Regions from separate parts of the Homo sapiens genome. Here region 2 is linked to region 1. The links are contacts of gene promoters, found by promoter capture Hi-C in blood cells and fetal thymus (Javierre and others, 2016). All regions are on one chromosome and are shown on one strand. Each heading gives the region's core, a stretch centred on a gene start or on the middle of the fragment in contact. The rest is flanking DNA. Distances are from core to core; before and after follow the strand shown. Region 1 holds the start of RBPMS (RNA binding protein, mRNA processing factor). Region 2 overlaps DUSP4 (dual specificity phosphatase 4).

What was found. Contacts are between HindIII fragments. The CHiCAGO score rates a contact against its expected background, and 5 or more counts as called.
Region 2: a contact is called between a fragment that was not itself captured here and the fragment with the promoter of RBPMS in region 1, in 5 of 17 cell types (naive B cells, M2 macrophages, M0 macrophages and 2 more). The highest score is 9.5, in naive B cells.

Annotation. Positions count from the first base shown.
Region 1 is chr8:30,382,443-30,387,263 of GRCh38, forward strand. RBPMS (RNA binding protein, mRNA processing factor) reads left to right here and starts at 2,099. Exons shown (of 9, transcript NM_001008710.3): 1 at 2,099-2,716. The coding sequence starts at 2,651. It overlaps RBPMS-AS1 (RBPMS antisense RNA 1), which reads right to left and starts at 2,959. Exons shown (of 3, transcript NR_046205.1): 1 at 2,702-2,959; 2 at 1,102-1,255; 3 at 1-173. RefSeq lists enhancers at 1,886-2,556, 2,557-3,228. The HindIII fragment of the contact is 8,815 bases long and covers 950-4,821 here.
Region 2 is chr8:29,336,987-29,341,807 of GRCh38, forward strand. It overlaps DUSP4 (dual specificity phosphatase 4), which reads right to left. Exons shown (of 4, transcript NM_001394.7): 2 at 3,112-3,257; 3 at 1,296-1,515; 4 at 1-425. The coding sequence ends at 40. Among named protein-coding and RNA genes, the nearest start is that of DUSP4, 11 kb to the right of the region's middle. RefSeq lists an enhancer at 3,226-3,520. The HindIII fragment of the contact is 1,897 bases long and covers 1,583-3,479 here.

The DNA of each region.
Region 1 (4,821 bases), core at 849-3,348:
TTCCTCATGTAATTGAGGGAAGCTGGCAGTGCAAAGAGCTGCCAGTTAAGGCAATCAATACATCCAAACACGTGCAAAGTTTCCACATTCACTGTAGCCTTATCTCTTCTGAATGTCTTGGGTTGCAGTTTCAAGAGTTGGTTTATTTTCATCCAGGATACATGTTTGTTCCCCTTAGAGAGAAATCACATTATGACAGCAATTAAAAAAACATGTTTTCCTTATGGAAATCTTCCTGTTTCAAAATCTCCAAACCCCCAAGATAAATCCAATATGTAAATCCAAGTATCACTACTGTTTTTCTCCTCATAATGCCCTTAAAGCAAATATTTTCCTTGCTTTCTATAATCGGAAAGAGGATTCTGAGAGTATCTTGGCTCCATACCACTTTATTTTTTTGTCTTTTCTTTTTTTCCCCTCTGTGGAGAACAGAGTCTCACTATGTTGCCCAGGCAGGTCTTGAACTCCTGGGCTCAAGCAATCCTCTTTCCTCTATCTCCTTAAGTGCTGAGATTCCAAGTGTGAGCCACCATACCACTTTAAACTCCCTAAAGGGAGGGTCCTTATCTGCAACTCCCACAGCCACCCCCGCCCTATCCCCAGCAGCACTTAAACCAAGTATAAAGAATGTCTGGTGGGGGTGGGGAGAAACAGTTAAGCAAATACTGTAGTTGGAAACTGTTACCGGTGCAAGACAGGAGCAGCAGGCTGGGATGGAGAATTCCTGGGAGGAAGAAGTGGGGCAGAACCCACTGATATATGGAGTTCCACATTTATACCTTTGTAGCAGTCAAATCTAAGAGTTTAACACGGTGGCTCCACGTTGTAATCCCATCAGTTTGGGAGGCCAAAAGCAGGAGGATCACTTGAGGCCAGGAGCTCGAGCTCAGCCTGAGCAACAAAGTGAGACCCTCATTTTTCTAAAAAAAAAAAAAACCAAAAAACCATAAGCTTAAATGATCGAGTATTGGAAACGCTTTCTAAGGCCCTGGAAAAATAGAAGTTTTCTTAATAATAATGTTAGCTTCCATGTATTGTAAACCTAAACGAAGCAAGAATAAATGCTGGGTGCTGTATATAGCTCTATCAACCTATAATCACCTCGAAAACTCGAGGAGACACATTCAGCTGCTCCCATTTCACGGATGAGGAAACAAGTACGCAATCCTGAAGCTGGTGCAAAGCCCAGGCCCCCTTTCTTTTTCAAGCGTGCTTCCAGCCTCTGAAGTTCCTCCGTACGGACCCCCAGCTCTGCCTGCAATAAGGAATATTCACTTTGCCAACAAATATTTATTGAGTGCCTGCTATATACCCCTTAGCCCGTTTAAATAGCCGTGGGATTAAAAAGATAAATAGGGCAGGATTTTTTTTTTTCTTCCAGGAAGGAGCTTTCTGAAGGGTGAGGGAGAGGCCAGGTAAACAATCCCAGAACAGTCTGGTGAGAGTTGGGAGAGGAGTCGGGGGGCCGCGGGACGCTCAGGAAGCGAAGCGGGGAAGGCTCCGGGCGCGTCGCAGGACCCGCGCTGGAGATGGGTTTGAAGCCCTGTCCTGAAAAAGCCGGCCCGGAGTGGGCTGTCCCCGGTGTCCCTCGAGTTCTCATGCTGTCATTCAAGCAGCAGAGGAAGAACCGGGTCTGGCTCGGGAAGGGTGGGCTTAGGGCCAGGGGTGCAAATCCCTCGGTAAAAGCCGGCAAACTAAAAGTCGCACACATCCCAGGTCCCGGTCCAGGCCCCGGCGGGGCAGGGTCCCCGAAGTCCCGGGGCGCGCAGACGCCGGGGCCCCCGGGGGCCAAGGGAACGGCGGGACCCGACCTCCCTGCCCTCGGCCTCCCGGGCCCTCGCCCTCCGACCAGCCGCTGAGTCGGGGGCTGGGGTCGCCGCTTCCGCCCGCGGCCCGCTGCCCCTCCCCGGCGCGCGCCATCCGGCCGCCGGCCCCTCCTCCCGCGGGGGGCTCCGTCCCGCGCCCCGTCCCTCCGGGCTGCAGCCGGCAGCCCACGTCCAGGGAGGGCGGAGGGAGGAGGAGAGGCGCGGAGAGGAGGGAGGGGAGAGGGGAGGGAGGAAGGCGAGAGAAAGGGAGCTGCTTCCATCCCGGACTTCCCAGAGCCTGCCTGGAGCGCGTACTCAGCGGCTCTCGGGTCCCAGCGTCCCAGCCGCGGCCCGCGCTCCTCCGCCCCGCTCCTCCTCCTCCTCTTCCTCCTCCTCCTCCTCTCTAGGCACCCCCGTCCCCTCCTTCCAGCGGCTGCAGCCCCCAGCCCCAACTCTCCGCGCTTACTCCTGGGACGCGCGTCCTCGCCCCATCCTTTGCTTCCTTCCTTCCTTCCTTCTTCCTTCCTCCCCTGGCTCCCGCCCTCCCTCTCCAGGTCGCCCTCCCGGGGCCCGATTGTCTCGGTGCCCCGCTCCCGGCCCGCGCCCTGCCCCGTCTCTCCCTTGCACTTCCTGAGTCGCCCGCCGCCGCCGTCGCAGACTCGCCGCGGGAGCCCCAGCCCAACCCGAGCCCGACAGCCACTGCCCCGGCTCCAGCTCCAGCCCCACAGCCCGCGGCGCCCGCCCGAGGGAGCCCCGGCGCCCGGGGAAGGCTCCAGTGGGCTAGCGCGCCCTCGCCCAGCCCCGCGCCCCAGCCCTGCCCGGCCCGGCGAGGAAGGACCGGGAAGATGAACAACGGCGGCAAAGCCGAGAAGGAGAACACCCCGAGCGAGGCCAACCTTCAGGAGGAGGAGGTACTGGGCGGCTCGGTGTGGTGGCGGGGGCGACGCGGGACCCAGTGCGGGCGGCCGGCGGGGCGCGGGCCCGGGGCGCGGCGGTGGAAGAAGGTTCAGGCATGGCCCGTGCCCCGGACGCAGCCCCACAGTGTGGCCCGGGGAGGGTGGATCTCGGGAGCGTGTGTTTTTGTGTCCACGCGCGTCTGCGGGCCCCAAATTGCGTAACTCCAAGGACTTTTCGGAGACTTTTGTAAGTATAATGCTCAGCTTTGTTTGCCCGGGATTTATAAGTGGAACCGAGAGCTGACTCCTGGGTGACCTCAGATAATCGGGACTCGGAGGGTCAGGACTTAGGGCCGGGGCTGGAAATTGTGTATGGATTCAGGGTCGGGGGGGGAGCAGTTTAAGGAAGAAACTCGGGGGAAAGTTCTCGTTAAAAGATACCTCTATTCCCTGCCCCCTCCCTTTCCGTGTTAAAAGTTCTTGGTGAAATATCTTTCTAGCCGAGGTTTTTTGGATTAATAGATAACTCATCAGCCACATTCTTCTCTGCTGAGTCAAAGACCCCGAGCCTGGGCGGTGAACGCTTGTGATTTTAGGGGCCGTGCAGCTGAGGGGAGCAGAGTAAGAGGGTTAAAAACGCAGCAATTCACCAAATGCTCATCGAGGGTATTTTCATAGGACTTTGACTTCTGAGCATGCATTTTAGGTGGTGCGTCCGTAATCATGATGAAAGTTTTGTGACTGCGGAGCGTTCCTTCGGTGGAAACAAAATTGAGTAGATGTGGTCAGAAGGGGAGTCGGACTCAGGAACAAACGTTTCAGAATTCAGTAGGATATTTGTGGTATCCTACCAAATGACTCTTTTTGCAGGTACGTTATCTGGAGTCCAAGAAATTATTTCTGGCGTACTTCTTAACATCCCACACAGTTGAGTTCTTAAACATTCTAGAGGAACTTGAGAGTGTGTGTAGATGCAGGAAAGTGCACGTCTAAATATGACCCGAAAAGATTCACACAGGTATTGGATCCTGATATAGGTGAACACAGAAGGTAAACGGATTCTAAAGCGTTAGAATGTTGAGATCATTGTTGAGACACTATGTTGTGTGCAAACTTCAATTCTGATAGTGAAACCAAAATTGCAGAGGAATTCATTAATACATACAACTTCTCTGCACATTGTCCACTTGGAAAATGGTAACTATTTAGATGGAGAAGGTAGAGGAGCGAGACTATGCCAAACAATGCAAAATAAATAGGAGATTTTACTCGTCACCCAGTTGTATGGTAGTGAAAACCTAAATGAATTGCAGTCAGCCAAAAATTGCTTTTTCACCCGAGGACATTTTCTATTTTATTATAAAAGACTATTTGAAGAGTTGTTTACTTGCATGTTTTCTAATTACAATTGTAGGAATGCTACTGGCATTTCTTTTTTCAAAGCGATGGAGAGTTGAATGGTGTGTTCTGATTTTTTTTCTTGAACTTTACTGGCTGCTTTGCTATTTATTTTCCCTACCACTTAAAAAAATTTAAAAATAATGACAAGTGTGCTTTTTTAGGAATTACCATATTTAACTAATTCACTTACCATATCAAGATAATCATCGCTTCAGAAATCTTTCTGTTTCAGCTAGATGTGCAATCTGTTTGCTTCTCAGGGTTAGAATATTATATGAAACCATCTTTCTTTATTCACCCAGTTGAGAAAACTTTTTTTTTTCCTTTTGGTAGGTAGCAAAAGAGGTTCAATGTCCTAAAAATCATACCCACATTAAAATTAAGTATAGAAAAGTCACATTTTTCTGCTTGACCCCTCTTAACAGCTGCCAGGACCAAGGGATTGCCTGCCCTGTTCCTGGACGCTCCTCCGTCCTTGTGAGGTTGTGTATAATAATCGCTGTATAATCGCGGGCCATTGCAGTACAGTTGCTGCCTCTTACTTGTCCTGTTATCTGACAGCGTTCCTTTTCAGGTAGGAATGGCATGTGGCTCTAGAAAGTATCGGTCTTTTTAGCAAAACACTTGTTATGTAAAAAGTAAGGGGACACGTAGGAAGATTTCAGAACCCAAGTTGTCCAAGAGAGATGTCGTGTACAAAACAGTTAAGACCGTGAAGA
Region 2 (4,821 bases), core at 1,281-3,780, 1.0 Mb before region 1:
CTGGGAGCCAGCTCTGGTTCTGGGGCCCCCAGGGCGGCTCTAACAGCTGGGAGAGGTGGTGATGGGGCTGTGCAGGTAGGGCAGGCTGCTGGGGGCCGAGTGCACGCCCACGGAGACCGGAAAGCTGAAGACGAACTGCGAGGTGGGGGTGGCGGGGGTCTTGCCCCGCTCCCGCAGGGGTCCCGAGGGGCTAGCAGCCTCCGCAGCACAGGACGTGGCCAGCACCTGGGACTCGAACTGCAGCAGCTGCCCCATGAAGCTGAAGTTGGGCGAGATGATGCTGCGGCGCTGCTTAACGAACTCGAAGGCCTCCTCCAGCCTCACCCGTTTCTTCATCATCAGGTAGGCCAGGCAGATGGTGGCCGACCGCGAGATGCCCGCCTGGCAGTGCACCAGCACGCGCCCACGGCAGTCCTTCACGGCATCTGGGGACAGGGTTCAATAGGTTAGTGCACGTTTCTGCAGACCCCAGCCCCGACCAGGGGCACCGGCCAGCCCCTGGGGTCGGGGGGCTCTGAAGGAAGGACTAGCCGTGCTAGACCAAGGACTGGAGAGGAAGAAAACCCATGTAGGCAGGTCTCTAGAATGCCCCCAATTCTGAGGTCTATTTTCCCGAATCACTATGCTGAAGCTGGTTAAATCCTATTATCTGTTCAAGGATTTCCCTTTGCAGAAACAAAACAGTGGGGTCCAGGGTGGTGGCTCACTCCTGTAATCCCAGCGCTTTGGGAGGCCAAGGAGGGTGGATAACTTGAGCTCAGGAGTTCAAGACTAGCCTGGGCAATATGATGAAACTGTCTCTACAAAAATACAAAAATTAGCTGGGCGTGGTGGTGCACTTGTAGTCCCAGCTACTCCAGAGGCTGAGGCAGGAGAATCACTTGCACCCCAGAAGCGGAGGTTGCAGTGAGCTGAGATGGCGCCACTGCACTCCAGCCTGGGCAACAGAGCAAGGCTCTGTCTCAAAATAAATAAATAAATAGAAATAAAATAAAAACTATGACTCAATGCTCCTTGTGTCTTCCTCCCCGTCCAAAAACTCTTACCATCTAGGCACTGAAGCCATGCAAGGGGAAGGGGACTGGCTCTGCAAGCTAAGCCTGTGTGTAGGTCCATCTTCCCTCCTCCCTCCCAACCCAACATCCAATGTATAAGCCTTCCCAATGAGGAAGAGGGGGAATGGGGACCCTTGGATTCAGTGCCTCCAATGTCCACCTTCAACCCAGGCTTACAGGGGTTCCTTATCCTTCCCACCCGCCCTCAAACCCAGGAACCCCAGAGCAGGGCCAGCCTACCGATGTACTCTATGGCTTCCATGAACCAGGAGCTGATGTCGGCCTTGTGGTTATCTTCCACTGGGATGCACTTGTACTGATAGTGTCCTTCAAAGTGGTTTGGGCAGTCCGAGGAGACATTCAACAGAGCCGTGATGCCCAGGGCGTCCAGCATGTCTCTCCGGGCAGCATGGTAGGCACTGCCGAGGTAGAGGAAGGGAAGGATCTCCACAGGACCCCCCTGCACAGAAAGGGAAACAAAGGCCCCTGAATGACATGAGGGTAAAGTGCTTGGCACAGGGAGTGGAAGCTTGTCTGAGAAGAGCTTTCCTTTCCAAACCCAGGGAGAATGCCTGCTGGGCCTGGCCCTCCCAGCCTCCCCCTGTAGCCTCCTGGAACTCTTGGAGGGGTGATAGGCCCAGTGGGACTTCTCCAGCCTTTGCCCTCTACTTGTGAGCAGAGAGGCCAGGGCAGGTAAAGTCTTGTGGGACTCTCCTGCACCTCCCCCATGGCAAAATAAGCGGCAGGACAATGCCGGCCTTATGGCACCATCTGTGACACTGAGTTTATATCTGCTAATCATCAAGCCATTTGCTGTGTGGTTTAGATACTTATTTGTTTTGATATGTATTCACTGGGCATATCAAAAACAGGTGTGCAGTGGCTCACACCTGTAATCTCAGCACTTTAGGAGGCTGAGGTGGCAGGATCATGTGAGCCAGGAGTTCCAAGACCAGCATGGGCAACACAGTGAGACCTCATCTCTCAAACAATGAAGCTGGCATGATGGTGCACACCTGTAGTCTCAGTTGCTTGGGAGGCTGAAATGGGAGGATCATTTGAGCCCAGGACTTTGAAGCTGCAGTGAGCTATGATTGCGCCACAGGACTCAAGCCTGGGTAACAGAGTGAGACTCTGTCTCTAAAAATAAACAAATAAATAAGCTGATGCCCTCATGGCCACACAGACAAGAGAGAGGATCTTGGCAAAATGAGGCAACAGTGGCTTAAATTTAGCACATGAGATGTGGGCAGCAGAGTCCATCTAACTGAAAGGGCTGGAGGGTGGGCTTATAAGAAACACAGTGGCTCAAGCAGGTTTTCTTGGAGGGAGGGTGGGTGACCATCTATGTTCATTCGGCTGATACGTGGGAGCAGCCTGCCTGTCGGGGACTGAGATGTATTTCATGGCCTGCTACTTCAGAGGAGAATGACCTCAGCTTCCCAGAGAGCAGGTCCCCCAGGGCTTCTGGAGGCCTCCTCACTTGTCCGGACACGACGTTAGAGGCCAAGCCAGGGAGTCATGTCTTTAGACTTTTTTCTTAGGAGGATATTTAGAGAGGGAAGGGGAAGATTTCCAAGAAGTAAATAGGTCCTACCTAACATCCCACCCCAATACTCCGGGTTCACCGCATTCTCCCCAAATTGAGGCATAACATTCAAAGACTTAAAAAAATCTCAGGATTGGATGCAGTGGCTCACGCCTGTGATCCCAACACTTTGGGAGGCCAAAGCAGGAGGATCACTTGAGGCCAGGAGTTCAAGACCAGCCTGGGCAACATAGCAAGACCCCCCCCCCCCATCTCTACCAAAAACCTTTTAAAATTAGCCAGGCATGGTAGTGCCACCTGTAGTCCCAGCTACCAGGGAGGATCCCTTGAGCCCAGGAGTTCGAGGCTGCAGTAAGCTATGATCACACCACTGCACTCCTGGGTGACAGAGCAAGACTGTCTCAAAAGCAAAGACAAAAAACACCGTCAGAACTCTGAAAAGAAGGCATCCACTGGCCCCTACGCTGTTCCTGCCCCCCACTTCCAAGCCCTGCCCCCCGAGTCTACCTGGTCGTGTAGTGGGGTCCCACAGGAGCTGCAGCCCAGGTCCAAGGGCTCTGTGGCACTGGGGGGAACCGGGGGTGGGATGGCTGCCAGGGCCTTGGTTTTAGAACAGAATTCTGGGTACTCGGAGGAAAACCTCTCATAGCCGCCTGTAAAGGAGAAAGAAGCTCAGGTTAATGGGGTCACTAAGCCAGCAGGAAGTCAGAAAGAACTCGACTCCTACAGACTCAGGCGGACTGCTAGGAAGGCAGGGGCTGGCGTGCTCCATATTGGCCACTAGGTGGCGCTGTGGACCTAGAGAATGGCCATGGAGTGGTTTCCAGAGATGCAGAGGACACACTCGTCAGGACTGCAGCAAAGCTGGAAGGATAAGCTTTATGGACAAGACTTGGGTTAGAGAGGTAGACATACAAAGGAAGACGTGCAGGGGGATGTGCAGAAGTGACTGTGGAGTAGCTCCTCAGGACAATGACAAAATAGAGAAGCAAAGGTCACGCTGGGCTTCCAAGGACACTAAGTACCTGTAGAGACACCTGCCACCCCTGATTCCAGCCCTTCCTCAGGGGAGGTTCTCCAATGTGAGAAAGAAGGGAAAAAATGACCCTGGTACAAACTCTTCTGGATCTCAGCAATGGAACAGATGTCCATTGCACGTCCTCATGAATAGCTGTTCCGTCACCAAGAGACCAGAACAAGAGGAAAACGGGCTTAAATCTAAATAAACCCCTCATGCTATGTACAGGTTTGGGGCAAGGGAGTATTTCCTGACCTGAGAGTGGGTAAGCCCTGGAATGGTTATCTGTGGGATCATCTTCCAGAGAAGGGAGATCTTTTAAATAAAAAAAGAAGATGATGATAAATGGCCAGCTGAGCTGGGGTAGGGTGAGTGCTCCTATCTAGGAGGGGTGGAGGCAGGTGGGATACAGGGAGAGGCCACAGGGAGGCCATCCAAAAAGACAACCTTTCAAGCCCTATCTCTGGCTTTCTTGTGATCTCTGGGACTTCCTTTTGCGGCCAACTTCCAATCCACAGTGCTATCAATGTATGGCCCTGCTTTTATTTTTATTTTACAGTGTCTGTAGGGCCAGAAATGGATTCAATTGATTCAGTAGGGCCTGTGCGTTGGAGAACCACCATTCCAACAAACCCATTCAACTGACTCCAATGACAATTTGGCCAACAGTCCTGGATGTCGCTACCTTTGCGGTCTTCATGACAGTGACATAGGACCTCTGTGCCCTAGGGCCATTGATAGAAATTTTCCAATGTGCAGACATGTGACGGTGAGTCAGTCACTTGCGCCAAATCCCAACCCTAAAGACTGCTTCCTACTGAGAGGAAGGAAACGGTTCTCTACCACATCATGAGGCTTATAGAAACAGGGTGTACATTTTTTCCTCTCTGACCGGAGGCTTCTCTATTCCCCTCCTCTCCCTCCCTCAGGATATAAATGGATCTCTCTCTGGTCACAGGCCCTTGTTCCTGCTGAGTCACAGTGACCAGCCTCCCTGGATGGAAAACCTGCTGGTGGGGCTGGTACCGTCAGCCTCGGTCATGCTGGTGGCCTCGGCAGCCACTTCATCACAGAAGCACCCCCTCCCTCCCATCATAAACCCCTTTCCTTATTCGGCTGCCACCACTGCTGCCCAAAATGCAGTAATTAGAGGATGAGGGAAGAGGAAGGAAATATCTGTCTGCAGCTGAAGTCCTTCA